5 separate regions of the Homo sapiens genome follow, and all the other regions are linked to region 2. The links are contacts of gene promoters, found by promoter capture Hi-C in human tissues and cell types (Jung and others, 2019). All regions are on one chromosome and are shown on one strand. Each heading gives the region's core, a stretch centred on a gene start or on the middle of the fragment in contact. The rest is flanking DNA. Distances are from core to core; before and after follow the strand shown. Region 1 overlaps KCNG2 (potassium voltage-gated channel modifier subfamily G member 2). Region 2 holds the start of CTDP1 (CTD phosphatase subunit 1). Region 3 has its middle 130 kb from the start of CTDP1-DT. Region 4 overlaps KCNG2 (potassium voltage-gated channel modifier subfamily G member 2). Region 5 overlaps KCNG2 (potassium voltage-gated channel modifier subfamily G member 2).

Evidence for each region. The method cuts DNA at HindIII sites, captures the fragments that hold promoters and counts their contacts. A contact is called where the count stands out against the background at its distance.
Region 1: a contact is called between a fragment that was not itself captured here and the fragment with the promoter of CTDP1 in region 2, in 2 of the 25 tissues and cell types used here (mesendoderm cells and spleen).
Region 3: a fragment that was not itself captured here is called in contact with the fragment with the promoter of CTDP1 in region 2 in 2 of the 25 tissues and cell types used here (spleen and thymus).
Region 4: a fragment that was not itself captured here is called in contact with the fragment with the promoter of CTDP1 in region 2 in 5 of the 25 tissues and cell types used here (IMR-90 fibroblasts, dorsolateral prefrontal cortex, lymphoblastoid cells and 2 more).
Region 5: a contact is called between a fragment that was not itself captured here and the fragment with the promoter of CTDP1 in region 2, in 1 of the 25 tissues and cell types used here (spleen).

Annotation. Positions count from the first base shown.
Region 1 is chr18:79,837,754-79,840,453 of GRCh38, reverse strand. All of the region lies in intron 1 of KCNG2 (potassium voltage-gated channel modifier subfamily G member 2), which reads right to left. Among named protein-coding and RNA genes, the nearest start is that of KCNG2, 41 kb to the right of the region's middle. The HindIII fragment of the contact is 8,072 bases long and covers 1-2,700 here.
Region 2 is chr18:79,678,545-79,681,244 of GRCh38, reverse strand. CTDP1 (CTD phosphatase subunit 1) reads right to left here and starts at 1,442. Exons shown (of 13, transcript NM_004715.5): 1 at 984-1,442. The coding sequence starts at 1,297. It overlaps CTDP1-DT (CTDP1 divergent transcript), which reads left to right and starts at 1,500. Exons shown (of 5, transcript NR_136643.1): 1 at 1,500-1,851. RefSeq lists enhancers at 1,301-1,809, 1,810-2,317. The HindIII fragment of the contact is 29,025 bases long and covers 1-2,700 here.
Region 3 is chr18:79,549,529-79,552,228 of GRCh38, reverse strand. No RefSeq gene overlaps it. Among named protein-coding and RNA genes, the nearest start is that of CTDP1-DT, 130 kb to the left of the region's middle. The HindIII fragment of the contact is 8,578 bases long and covers 1-2,700 here.
Region 4 is chr18:79,859,146-79,861,845 of GRCh38, reverse strand. All of the region lies in intron 2 of KCNG2 (potassium voltage-gated channel modifier subfamily G member 2), which reads right to left. Among named protein-coding and RNA genes, the nearest start is that of KCNG2, 63 kb to the right of the region's middle. The HindIII fragment of the contact is 4,051 bases long and covers 1-2,700 here.
Region 5 is chr18:79,820,762-79,823,461 of GRCh38, reverse strand. The region is part of intron 1 of KCNG2 (potassium voltage-gated channel modifier subfamily G member 2); the gene reads right to left. Among named protein-coding and RNA genes, the nearest start is that of KCNG2, 24 kb to the right of the region's middle. The HindIII fragment of the contact is 3,710 bases long and covers 1-2,700 here.

The sequences.
Region 1 (2,700 bases), core at 123-2,622, 160 kb before region 2:
TTTTATTTGCCTTTTGTAGTCTTCAGCATTAAAGTTCTATATGTGTATTGCTAGACTCATACCTAAGTATTTCATTTTGTTGAACAATTGTAAAGGGTATTATATTCTATGTTTAATTTTGATATCCATGTGTCTTGCTAGTGTATTGATTTTGTATGTTTATCTTATGTCTTGCAATCTTGCTGAATTCATTTATTAGTTCTAAGAGTTTTTTTTGGCTTTTTGTAGATTTCTTGGGATTTTCTGTGTATACAATCATGTAATTTGCAAATGGGGCAGTCTTATTTCTTCCTTTATAACTTATATACATTTTATTTCATTTTATTACCCACTGCAGTGACCAGAGCTTTCAGTTATATGTTGAATAAGAGTGATGAAAGTGAGCATTTTTGCCTTGTTCTCCATCTGAGGGGAAGAACATTCAGTCTTTCACCATTAAGTGTATGTCAGCTAAGGTTTTTGTAGATACTCTTTATCAAGTCAAGAAACTTCCCCTTGATTCCTATATTCTGAGAATTTTTATCAAAAGAGGTGTTATTTAAAAAGTTTTTTGCATCAACTTATATGATTATGTGATTTTTCTTTAGCCTGTCAATATGGTGCTTACACTGATTGAATTTAAATACTGAATCATCTTTGCATCCCTGGAATAAACTCTCCACTTGGCCATGGTGTATAATTCCTTTTACGTATTGCTGATTTCTATTTGCTAATATTTAATAAGGTTTTAGAAAATGTTCCCTCCTCTTCCATTTTTTGGAAAAGACAGTATAGATTGGTGTTAATTCTTCCTTAGATGTTTACTCAGAGGTTTAGTTGTTTAGATGTTCTCCAGTGAAATCATCTGGGCTTGGAGATTGCTTTTTCAGGAATTTTTAATTTACAAATTCAAGTTTATTAACAGTTATAGGACTATTCTCATGATCTATTTCACACTGGGTGAATTGTGGTAGTGTGTATTTTCCAAGGAATCGGTCCAGTAGATCTGGGCTGTCAAATGTGCATGTAGAGTTGTTGGCAGGGTTCCCTTCTCACACTTCTGATGTCTACAGGGTATGCAGTTATGTCCTCTATTTTGTTCCTGACGTTGGTAACGTGTGTCTTCTCTCTTCTTAATTTTGTTGGGCTTGCCAGGAATTATTTATTTATTTATGCATTTAGAGTCAGGGTCTTGCACTGTTGTCCAGGCTGGAGTGCAGTGGCATGATCATGGCTCACTGCAGCCTTGACCTGGGCTCAAGTGATCCTCTCCCTTCAGCCTCCCAAGTAGCTGGGATGACAGGCATGCGCCCACATATTCTGCTAATTTATTTTTAAATTTATATTTTTGTAGAGGTGGGGTCTTGTCCAGGCTGGTGTTGGATTCCTGACTCAAATGATCCTCCTGACTTGGCCTCTCAAAGTGCTGGGGTTACAGGTGTGAGCCACTGCATCTGGCCAAGTTTATTCTATTGATCCTTTCAAAGAGTCGGCTCTTTGTTTCACTGCTTTTCCCTATTGTTCTACTGGGCTAAGCGCCATTGACTTCTGCTCTTCATTATTTCATTCCTTCTACTTGCTTTGCTCTTCCTCTTCTAGGTACTGCAGGTGGGACCTGAGATTGTACATTGAGGTTTTTCCTTTTTTCTAATGTAATTTCCCTCTTGACACTGTATAGCTTGGTCTCACAAATTTTGATATGTTGTGTATATATTTTCATTCTGTTCAATGTATGTTTTGATTTCCCTTAAGACTTCCTCTTTGGGCCAGGTGAGGTGGCTCATGCCTGTAATCCCAACACTTTGAGAGGCTGAGGTGGGAGGATCACTTGAGCCCAGGAATTCAAGATCAGACTGGGCAACACAGGGAGACCCCATCTCTACAAAAAATTTAAAAATTAGCTGGGCATGGTGGTGCACACCTTTGGTCCCAGCTACTCAGGAGGCTGAGGTTGAAGGACTGCTGGAGCCCAGGAGGTCGAGGCTGCAATGAGCCATGATTGCATCACTGCAGTCAGCCTGGGCGACAGAGAGACATTGTCTCAGGAAAAAAAAAAAAAAAGACTTGTTTGGCCCAAGGATTATTTAGAAGTATGATTTAAATTTCCAGTGTTTGAAGATTATTCTATTATTGATTTCCAGTTTTATTCCATTATGCTCAGAGAACCACACTGAGAACACTTATATGATTTCAGTTCTTTTAAATTTGTTGAGATTTGTTTTATGGTATACTTTTGATATGGTTTGGCTCTGTGTCCCCACCTAAATCTCATCTTGATTTGTAATCACCACATGTCAAGGGAGGGACCTGGTGGGAGGTGACTGGATTATGGGCCAGTTCCCCCCTGCTGTTCTTGTGATAGCAAGTTCTCCTGAGATTTGATGGTTTAAAAGTGAGGCACTTTCCCTTCACTCACTCTCGCTTTCTCCTGCCACCATGTGAAGAAGGTCTTGCTTCTCCTTCACCTTCTGCCATGACTGTAAGTTTCCTGAGGCCTCCCCAGCCATGTGGAATTGTGGGTCAATTAAACCTTTTTTCTTCATAAATTACCCAGTCTCAGGTAGTTCTGTATAGGCGTGAAAATGGACTAATACAGAAAATTGGTACCTGGAGTGGGGCACTGCTACAAAGATACTTGAAAATGTGGACACAACTTTGGAACTGGGTAAAGGGCAGAGGTTGGAAGAGTTTGGAGGGCTCAGAAGAAGACAGGAAGATGTG
Region 2 (2,700 bases), core at 193-2,692:
AAGGAAGCGGAGCCAGGACGTTCTGGGGCTGTGACGGGAAGACTCCTGTCCCAGTCCTCACTCTTGCGGAACCAGATGCAGAGAAGATCCTCAACAAACACAGGGTCAGGGCAAGCCAAAGGGACGAGGAGCCGCGGCTGCCGAGGAGGGAAGAGAGTGGCATCCCCAGAAGGAGCGGCACCTTTCCCAGAGGGAGCTCACGCCCGGCCCACTGCGGGCTGGAGTGTCCACCTCTCCCTGGAGTTTCTGTTCTCACAATCAAAACTACCAGAGCCAGGCGCACACGCGTGTCCACTTGCCCGCCCATCCCAGAACACAAGGGTAGATTCAAACATGGCTGGACACTTCGGTGCTACGGAAACATATCCCCTTCTGGGGTCAGAGCACAGCTACTGAGAGCTGTGGAGTCTGTCACAACGCCCACGTCACCCTGAAGCAGCCTGCGACAATGCCCACTGTGGTCAACCACGGGGCTACTGCCTTCGCTGCAGGCCTGGGTTCCGCCCGTTCCTTAGCCACGAAACAGAACTGCACCAGGTTTTACAACTGCGTTTCACAAAGTTTACAAAAATTTAAAGATGTGCACACACCCAACAGTTTATATTTCAATAACAGGTCTGGAGCCTGCCTGATGACTCTTGTGCTCACAGCCACCCATGAGTTTTCCTAAGTCACAAAGGTGGAGCTAAAGGAAGGGGCGGGGACTATCACTGCAGAAAGAAAGAAACAAACATAGCTTTTCCAAACAGTAACTTCGTGTCGCTACGCAGGACCCTTTCCTTTTATCTCAAAATGCTCCCCGTTGGTAAAACCACAGGTGGTGACTATCCAGTTTTAGGGGAGAAGCGCAGTGCCTGCGTCCCGCTTTATCGCTCCCTCACCAGGGGCGCCCCTGCCCACCGCGGACGCAGCAGCCCGGGGGTCCTCCAGGATCCCTCCCCGGAGCCGCCCGCCCTCGGCCCCGCCCGGCTCAGCACACTCACCCTGGGGCGACCACCTGGCCCGGCTGCGCGCACAGCTCCCGCACCACGCCCGCGCGCTCCGACCTCAGCCTGCGTTCCGGCCGCGCGGGGCGCACGCAGCCCCCGGAGGCTACACGGGACTGAGAGGCCCCGGAGGACTGCGCGGAGGCGGCGGCCTCGAACACGGCCAGCACCGAGCCGATGCGCACGGCCGCGCCCGCCGCCACCCTCCACTCCAGCAGGCGCAGCGGCGCGGGCCCCGGGCAGCGCACCTCGGCCACAGCCGCCGTCGGGGCGCCCTCGGCAGGAACGCGACCCGCGGCCGGCACCTCCATCGCGGACAGAGGGCGGGCGGGCGGTCGGTACGGGGCCTGCGCTGCGCTCAGAGCGCAGCGCCTACCGCGGCGACACAACCCAGGCGGCGACGCTGTAGTTCCTCTCGGTACCGGCTTCCACCCGTCGCCTAGCCCGCGCCGACTTCCTGGAGGGCGCGTGACGTCACGCAAGGGCGCCGCGTACGTGCGTACGTGCGCGTGTAAATACGAGCGCCGCGCGGGGCCGGAGCCGGCTCCGTCCTGGGACCAACCCTGCGTGCCGGCCGTGAAGAACTGCGTTCCTGAGCCCTACCTACTTTTCCTCGGAGCGCCGGCACCGTGGAGCAGCGGCATGCAACGCGGGCCGCTGTCGCCCAGTCCCAGTGACGGTCTTGGCGCGCTCGGAACTACGTATCCCGGCGTGCACCGCGGACAGAGCATGGCGGGACTACGAGTCCCAGCGTTCAACGCAGGCCTGCGTGCCATTACCCCATCACGCGCTGAGACCCAGCATCCCGAGACTACGAGTTCCGGCATGCACCGCGAGCCGCTCTCCTCCACTCCCATCGCGCACTGTGAGTCGCAACGTCGCGGGACTACGGGTCCCGGCATGCCTTGCGCGCCGCGGGCCCAGAGACGTGAGGCTGTCGGCGTCCTGGTGGCCCCGCCTCGTGTCCCCCCCCGGACCCCACGCCGCGGGAGCTTGGGGGTTGCGGTCTTCTCTTCCTCCGACCTCACCTTCGATGCGGAAGCGCAGGGGCAGGTGCGCCGCCCTCGGCCCGCGCAGGCGGTGGGCCCGTCTGGGGCAAGGCGCCCGGAAGCGCCTGGTTGGTTCAGAAAATCGGACCGCAGCGGGAGGGCGGGCACCGGCGCGTGGTCTCAGTGGCCCCAGGCGAACCCTGATGAGCAGCAGCCGCAAGTGGCTTACTAAAGGAGCCACTTTCTACGTTTGTCTGGAATTTACGTGAATTAAGCTGGCGGGCGGGCGGCCAGGCCTGTAGTCTCAGCACTTTGGGAGGCTCAGCACTTCGGGAGGCTGTGGCGGGCGGATCACCTGAGCCTGGGAGTTGGAGACCAGCCTGCGCAACGTAGCAAGACCCTATCTCTAAAACAGATTCATTAATACTTAGCCAGGCGCGGTGGCTGAGGTCCCAGCTACTCGGCAGGCCCAGGCTGGCCTGAGCCAGACCGCTCTGGACTGTTTTAATTTTTTCAGCCTTAATACCTGCCAGAATTTTTTTTTTACTATGTATCTTTGTCCTTACGTATATAAATTTTATATACAATTGAGATTATCCTGTATTTGCTTTTCCCCCCTCACTTTTATATGGTGACTTTTCTCATGTTAGGCTGAATACTAACATTTTGGAAACTGTCGGCCTGAAAACGAGCGGAGACACAGTTTCTCTAAGTAGAGAGTTTAT
Region 3 (2,700 bases), core at 163-2,662, 130 kb after region 2:
CACGACGGAGGCAGAGACAGCGAAGCAGCGCCAGGCCCAGGGAGGCTGGAGGGAGGCTGAGACGGCTTCCCCGCAGAGCTCAGCACCGGCTGCGGCCTCAGGGGAGGGAGGATGCCTGCCTTCCCGCCGTCCGCACCGCCCTGTCTGTGGGTCTGTGAGGCTTTGTCGCCTGCCTTCCCGCCGTCCGCATCGCCCTGTCTGTGGGTCTGTGAGGCTTTGTCACCTGCCTTCCCGCCGTCCGCACCGCCCTGTCTGTGGGTCTGTGAGGCTTTGTCACCTGCCTTCCCGCCGTCCGCACGGCCCTGTCTGTGGGTCTGTGAGGCTTTGTCGCCTGCCTTCCCGCCGTCCGCACGGCCCTGTCTGTGGGTCTGTGAGGCTTTGTCGCCTGCCTTCCCGCCGTCCGCACCGCCCTGTCTGTGGGTCTGTGAGGCTTTGTCGCCTGCCTTCCCGCCGTCCGCATCGCCCTGTCTGTGGGTCTGTGAGGCTTTGTCGCCTGCCTTCCCGCCGTCCGCATCGCCCTGTCTGTGGGTCTGTGAGGCTTTGTCGCCTGCCTTCCCGCCGTCCGCACCGCCCTGTCTGTGGGTCTGTGAGGCTTTGTCGCCTGCCTTCCCGCCGTCCGCACCGCCCTGTCTGTGGGTCTGTGAGGCTTTGTCGCCTGCCTTCCCGCCGTCCGCATCGCCCTGTCTGTGGGTCTGTGAGGCTTTGTCGCCTGCCTTCCCGCCGTCCGCACCGCCCTGTCTGTGGGTCTGTGAGGCTTTGTCGCCTGCCTTCCCGCCGTCCGCACGGCCCTGTCTGTGGGTCTGTGAGGCTTTGTCGCCTGCCTTCCCGCCGTCCGCACCGCCCTGTCTGTGGGTCTGTGAGGCTTTGTCGCCTGCCTTCCCGCCGTCCGCACCGCCCTGTCTGTGGGTCTGTGAGGCTTTGTCACCTGCCTTCCCGCCGTCCGCACCGCCCTGTCTGTGGGTCTGTGAGGCTTTGTCACCTGCCTTCCTGCCGTCCGCACCGCCCTGTCGGTCTATGAGGCTTTGTCACCTGCCTTCCCGCCGTCCGCACCGCCCTGTCTGTGGGTCTGTGAGGCTTTGTCACCTGCCTTCCCGCCGTCCGCACCGCCCTGTCTGTGGGTCTGTGAGGCTTTGTCACCTGCCTTCCCGCCGTCCGCACCGCCCTGTCTGTGGGTCTGTGAGGCTTTGTCACCTGCCTTCCTGCCATCCGCACCGCCCTGTCGGTCTATGAGGCTTTGTCACCTGCCTTCCCGCCGTCCGCACCACCCTGTCTGTGGGTCTGTGAGGCTTTGTCACCTGCCTTCCCGCCATCCGCACCGCCCTGTCTGTGGGTCTGTGAGGCTTTGTCACCTGCCTTCCCGCCGTCCGCACCGCCCTGTCTGTGGGTCTGTGAGGCTTTGTCACCTGCCTTCCCGCCGTCCGCACCGCCCTGTCTGTGGGTCTGTGAGGCTTTGTCACCTGCCTTCCCGCCGTCCGCACCGCCCTGTCTGTGGGTCTGTGAGGCTTTGTCACCTGCCTTCCCGCCGTCCGCACCGCCCTGTCTGTGGGTCTGTGAGGCTTTGTCACCTGCCTTCCCGCCGTCCGCACCGCCCTGTCTGTGGGTCTGTGAGGCTTTGTCACCTGCCTTCCCGCCGTCCGCACCGCCCTGTCTGTGGGTCTGTGAGGCTTTGTCACCTGCCTTCCCGCCGTCCGCACCGCCCTGTCTGTGGGTCTGTGAGGCTTTGTCACCTGCCTTCCCGCCGTCCGCACCGCCCTGTCTGTGGGTCTGTGAGGCTTTGTCACCTGCCTTCCCGCCGTCCGCACCGCCCTGTCTGTGGGTCTGTGAGGCTTTGTCACCTGCCTTCCCGCCGTCCGCACCGCCCTGTCTGTGGGTCTGTGAGGCTTTGTCACCTGCCTTCCCGCCGTCCGCACCGCCCTGTCTGTGGGTCTGTGAGGCTTTGTCACCTGCCTTCCTGCCATCCGCACCGCCCTGTCGGTCTATGAGGCTTTGTCACCTGCCTTCCCGCCATCCGCACCGCCCTGTCTGTGGGTCTGTGAGGCTTTGTCACCTGCCTTCCTGCCATCCGCACCGCCCTGTCGGTCTATGAGGCTTTGTCACCTGCCTTCCCGCCATCCGCACCACCCTGTCTGTGGGTCTGTGAGGCTTTGTCACCTGCCTTCCCGCCATCCGCACCGCCCTGTCTGTGGGTCTGTGAGGCTTTGTCACCTGCCTTCCCGCCGTCCACACGGCCCTGTCGGTCTATGAGGCTTTGTCACCTGCCTTCCCGCCGTCCGCACGGCCCTGTCTGGGGGTCTGTGAGGCTTTGTCTCGGCCACCCCAGGACAACGACGGGGTCTCCTGGGAGCTCCCTCTCGGCCCCACACACGTCCTCCCTTCCCACTGCCCGTCACAGTCCAGTGGGGCCTGGGATGTGAAGGGCCCCCGGGGGATGAGGTGACACTCCTTCTGCTCCACACACACGGGTTCAGAGCCCCCAACTCCCCATCCCCGCGAGCCGTGGGAGTTGGCGCCGCTGGCGGAACCCATCTGCCCGAGCTCCTGGGCAGGTCCCAGCAGAGGTGCTGAGAAAAAGTCAGAGAATTCAGGAGACAAGCGGCTGGCAGAGCAAAACCAGAAGCAAAATAAAATAACCAGCGCCCCTGGCAACACGTAATAAACCCCGCATGCAGTGGGCACCTCGGATGCCTTGGGTCTGGAGGA
Region 4 (2,700 bases), core at 105-2,604, 180 kb before region 2:
CTGAGGAGCAGAAAGAAAACAAGTGAAGAAAACGGAACAGAGCCTAAGAGACCTGTGGGACCATCACATGTACCAGCTTTTGCATAGTGAGAGTCCTGAAAGGAAAGAGGGAACAGGGAAGAAAGAATATTTGAAGAAATATGGTTTAAAAACCCTCCAAATTCGATGAAAAACATTAATCTACACATCTAAGAAACTCAACAAACTCCAAGTAAGATAAATTCAAAGACATCCACACTGACACACCACAAACTGTCTAAAGACAAAGACCCGGCACAGTGGCTCATGCCTGTAATCCCAGCACTTTGGGAGGCCGAGGCAGGTGGATCCTCTGAGGTCAGGAGTTTGAGACCATCCTGGCCAACATGGCAAAAACCTGTCTCTACTAAAAATACAAAAATTAGCGGGGTGTGGTGGCAGGTGCCCGTAATCCCAGCTACTCGGGAGGCTGAGGCAGGGAGAATTGCCTGAACCTGGGAACGGAGGTTTCAGTGAGCCGAGATCGCGCCACTGCAGTCCAGCCTGGGTAACAGAGTGAGAACTCCATCTCAAAAAAAAAAAAAAAAAAAAAAGAGAGAGAGAGAAGAAAACAGAGGCAAAAATCCTCCACAAGACATGAGCAAAATAAATCCAGCTTCATATTAAAAGGATTATACATGATGACCATTTGATCGTTTACCATAGAGATTTATCACAGGAATACACGGGTGGCACAATACACAAAATTACTATAATACGCTCATTTATAGGATGAAGGGAAAAATCATGCGATAATTTCAATAGAGGCAGAAAAAGGATTTGACGAAGTCTAACATCCTTTCCTGATTAAACAAAAAACTCAATCAATAACTAGGTCTAAAAGAGAACTTCCTCCACATGACAAGGTCCACGTAGGAAAAACTCACCGCTAACTCCATAGTCAACGGTGAAAGACTGGATTCTTTCCCCTAAGACCAGGAACAAGACTGAAATACCTGCTCTCATCAGTTCTACTTAACATTGAACTGGAAATTATAGTCAGAAAAATTAGGCAAGAGAAAGAAATAAAAGGCATCCACACTCAAAAGAAAAAAGTAAAACTATATTTTGAGATGACTTGATCTTATGATCTTATGTACAGAAAACCTTAAAGAACACACACGCACACATACACATACACATGCGCACACACACACACACACATCACTATGAGAATGGGTTCAGCAAAGTTGCAAGACATGAGATCGGTAAAAAAAATCAGTTGTATTTCTATACAAAAGCAATGAATAATCGGAAAAGGAAGTTAAAAAAATTCCATTTATAAGAGCATCAGAAAGAATAAAATACTTAGAAATAAATTTAACCAAGGAGTGGAAACTGAAACCTACACTGAAAACTGAAAACTACAAACATTGGTGGAAGAAATTTTAAGACTAAATAAATGAAAAGACATTCCATGCTCATGTATTGGAAGACTTAATATTGTTAAGATGGCAATCTTCCCTAAATTGATCAACAGAGTCAATCCAATCCATATGAAAATCCCAGTAACTTTTTTGAAGACATTGACAAGTTGAACATTCTATTGACAAGTTGAAAATTCTATTGGAAATGCAAGGTAGCCAAAACAAACTTGACAAAGGACAAAGTTGGAGGGCTCAAACTTACTTGATATCATTTTATTACATGCCTCCACCTAAATCTTGTGTCGAAATGAGATCTGTTCGTTTAAAAGTGTGTGGTACCTACCCCGCAACCTTGTTCTTGCTTTCACCATGTAACGTGCCTGCTCCCCCTTTGCTTTCTGCCATAACTGGAAGCTTCCCAAAGCCTCCCCAGAAGCTTAGCAGACATTGGCACCGTGCCTCCTTTACAGCCTGAAGAACCATGAGCGAATTAAACCTCTTTTCTTTATAAATTACCCAGTCTCAGGTATTCCTTTATAGGAATGCGAACATGGACTAGTACATTACTACTTACTCAAAGTGAGTATAAAGCTACAGCAATCAAGAGTGTAGTACTAGTGTAAAGAGAGACATAAAAATCAATGGAGCAGAATTGAAAGTCCAGAAATGAACCCATAAATCTACCGTCAGTTCACTTTTGACAAGGTCGTCAAGACTATTCAATGGAGAAGTAATAGTGTCTCCAACAAACGGTTATCCACATGTAAAAAAATAAAGTTGGACCCTGCTATCGTTTGGATATTGGCCTCCAAATCTTATATTGGAATTTGATACCCAGTGTCGGAGGTGGGGCCTAATGGGAGGGGTTTGGGTCATGGGGGCTGATCCCTCATGCATGGCTGGGAGGTGTCTTCATGGTAATGAGTGAGTTCTCGCTCTATGAGTTCACTCCAGAGTTGGCTGTTGAACCCGCCTGGCACCCCTAGCCCTTGCTTCCTCCATCTCCGTGTGGTCTCTGCACACACCAGCTCCACGCCATCTTCTGCCATGACTGGAGCTGCCTGTGGCCTTCCTCAGATGCAGATGCCTGATCTTGAACTTTTCCAGACATCAGAATCATGATGACATCACAAGCTTCTTTTTAAAATGAATTACCTGGCTCCAGGTATTCCTTTATAGCAACACTGAATGGACCAAGATGCCTACATCACACTATATATAAAAACTAATTCAAACTAGATCAAAGACCTTAATGTAAGAGCTAAAACTCCAAAACACACGTAGAAGAAAACAGACTGTACATCTTCATGACCAT
Region 5 (2,700 bases), core at 176-2,675, 140 kb before region 2:
CTGGCCTGGCTGTGAGCAAACAGCGCTCGACACGGGGCACAGCTCTCAGGAGGGAGGAATGTGGCAACATCCGGCTGGCTAATGACCTCTGTGCAACCCCAATTCTGGGAGTCAACCCTGCAGAGATGAAAAGGTCCACATGTGGTGTTCACAGCAGCACAGGTGGAGATGGCAAAACCCTGGAAACAGCCCAGTGCCCGCACAGAGCAAGGTCGCTGAGTAAACGCGGGTGTCTACACGGTGGGGCACGTGCCGGAAGGAGGAAGGTCTGTAAGGCCTGCCACGAGATGACTTCCAGGACATTAAGTGAGAAGGCAAAGTGAGAAGAAAGGCAGAGATTTGCCACCCATGGTGTAAGACAGGGGCCAGCTGAAATGCACAGGTGCCTGCCTGGCTGTGCAGGAGGAACAGAGGAGGATGAACAGAAACTAAGGCTGTCTCCCCATGGAGGGAGGTGGGAAGGGCCTTCCAGAGGCAGTGACTCCTAAAGCCTTGGGGTGCTCCACACGCTCTTCACATGCCACAAGTGAGCCACACCCACACGCAACACCAACGCCCACGATAAGCCCAGGTGCCTCACAAGGAATCCACAACCCCACGGAAGCGTGGGGAGACAAGGGCTCTCCCAGGTAATTGTGGAAAATGTGTTTCCATGAAATCCGGAGGCTAAAGACTAGAAGAGCCACACGCAGCAGGCTCCAGTCTCTCGGGGTGAGCACAGCACACGTTTGAAGGCCCAGCACGGTGCTCACACCTGTGATCTCAGCACTTTGGAGGCCGGGGTGGGTGGATCCCTTGAGGTCAGGAGTTCAAGACCTGCCGGGGCAACACAGCGAGACCCCCATCTCTACAAAAATTAGCCAGGCATGGTGGCTCACGCCTGTGGCCCCAGCTACTCGGGAGGCTGACGTGGGAGGATGCTTGAGCCCTGGAGGCTGAGGCTGCAGGGAGCCATGACTGCAACACTACACTCCAGCCTGGGGGACAGAGTGAGACCCTGTCTCAAAAAAATAATAACTTTAAAAAGTATCAATATTGTGAAAAACAAAAACGAAAAACAAACTGGAGAGCTATTACAGACGGATGATGGGAACGATGGTGAGGGGCCCTGGACAGAACCGTGGCTCTAGTATGAAGAACGCGGTGACATCTGAGTGGGGTTTTAAAGTAGTGACCAGGGCGGGGCCAGTGGGAATCCCTGGTCTGGACCATTCTGCCAACACTGGAGGAAGCTGGGTGGGAGACATGGGAACCTCTATGAATCTGCAACTTTCCTATAAGTCTAAAAATCGTTCAAATAAAAAGCTTTTAAAAATCTAACATTTCCTGCTTAAACCCCAGGACAATGGTACAAAAGGCACCTTGAGTCTGAATTTGACAAGTTTTACTGAAGCCTTCACATCCCAGCCCCAAATATCAGTGCTGGGATTTCCTCACAACAAACCCATCTGGCACATTCACTCAGCCCACTTCTAGAATGGCCTACAAAAAACAGTGCTTTTTTGCAGAAATGAAAAAGCCCGTCCTAAAATTCATATGGAGTCTTAACGGACCACGAATAGTCAATACAATTTTGAAAAAGAAGGGCAATGATAGAGGCCTCACACTTCCAATCTCAAAGGTGCTGCCAAGCTATGGCGATCAAGATGCATGGCCTGGCCTGTGGACAGACAGGGCAGTTGAGGGCGGAGCAGGACGCCCAGAGATGAGCCCTACACCTATGATCAAGTGATTTTGGGAAAAGAGTGCCAGGACCATTTAATTCAGGAAGGAGGCCCTTCCTAGTAAATGGCACCAGGAAGATGGGGATGTGCTCACACAAAAGGGTGCAGCTGAGCCCTACCCCACCCCATATACACAATTCAAGTAAAAGGCCAGGCGTGGTGGCTCACGCCTGTAATCCCAGCACTTTGGGAGGCCGAGGCGGGTGGACAACCTGAGGTCAGGAGTTTGAGACCAGCCTGGCCAACATGGTGAAACCCCGTCTCTACTAAAAATACATAAATTAGCTGGGTGTGGTGGTGGGTGCCTGTAATCCCAGCTACTTGGGAGGCTGAGGCAGGAGAATCATTTGAACCTGGGAGGCAGATGTTGCCGTGAGCCAAGATTGCGCCACTGTGCTCCAGCCTGGGTGACAAGAGCCAGGCTCTGTCAAAAAAAAAAAAAAAAAAAAAATTCAAGTAAAAATGGGTTGACGGCCAAAATTTACAGATAAAACTATAAAACTCTTAGAATAAAACATGTGGTCAAATCTTCATGATGTTGGATTTGGCAATGGTTGCTTAAATGACATCAAAAGCACAGGCAACAAAATAAAAATAGATCAACTGAGCTTCATTCAAATTAAAAACTTCTGTGCATCCGAGGACACTATCAACAAAATGAAAGCCCACAGACTGGGGGAAAATATTTGCAAATCACATATCTGATAAGGGCTTAATATCAAGAACATATAATGAGTTTCTCTAACTCAGTAACTAAAGACAAACAACCAAATCTAAAAATGGGCAAAGGGGCTAGGCATGGTGGCTCACACCTGTAATCCCAGCACGTTGGGAGGCTGAGGTGGGAGGATCACTTGAGTCCAAGAGTTTGAGATCAGCCTGGCAACATAGCGAGACCCTCTCTCTACAAAAAATACAAAAATTAGCTGGGTGTGGTGGTGCATGCCTGGAGTCCCAGCTGCTCCAGGGGCTGAGG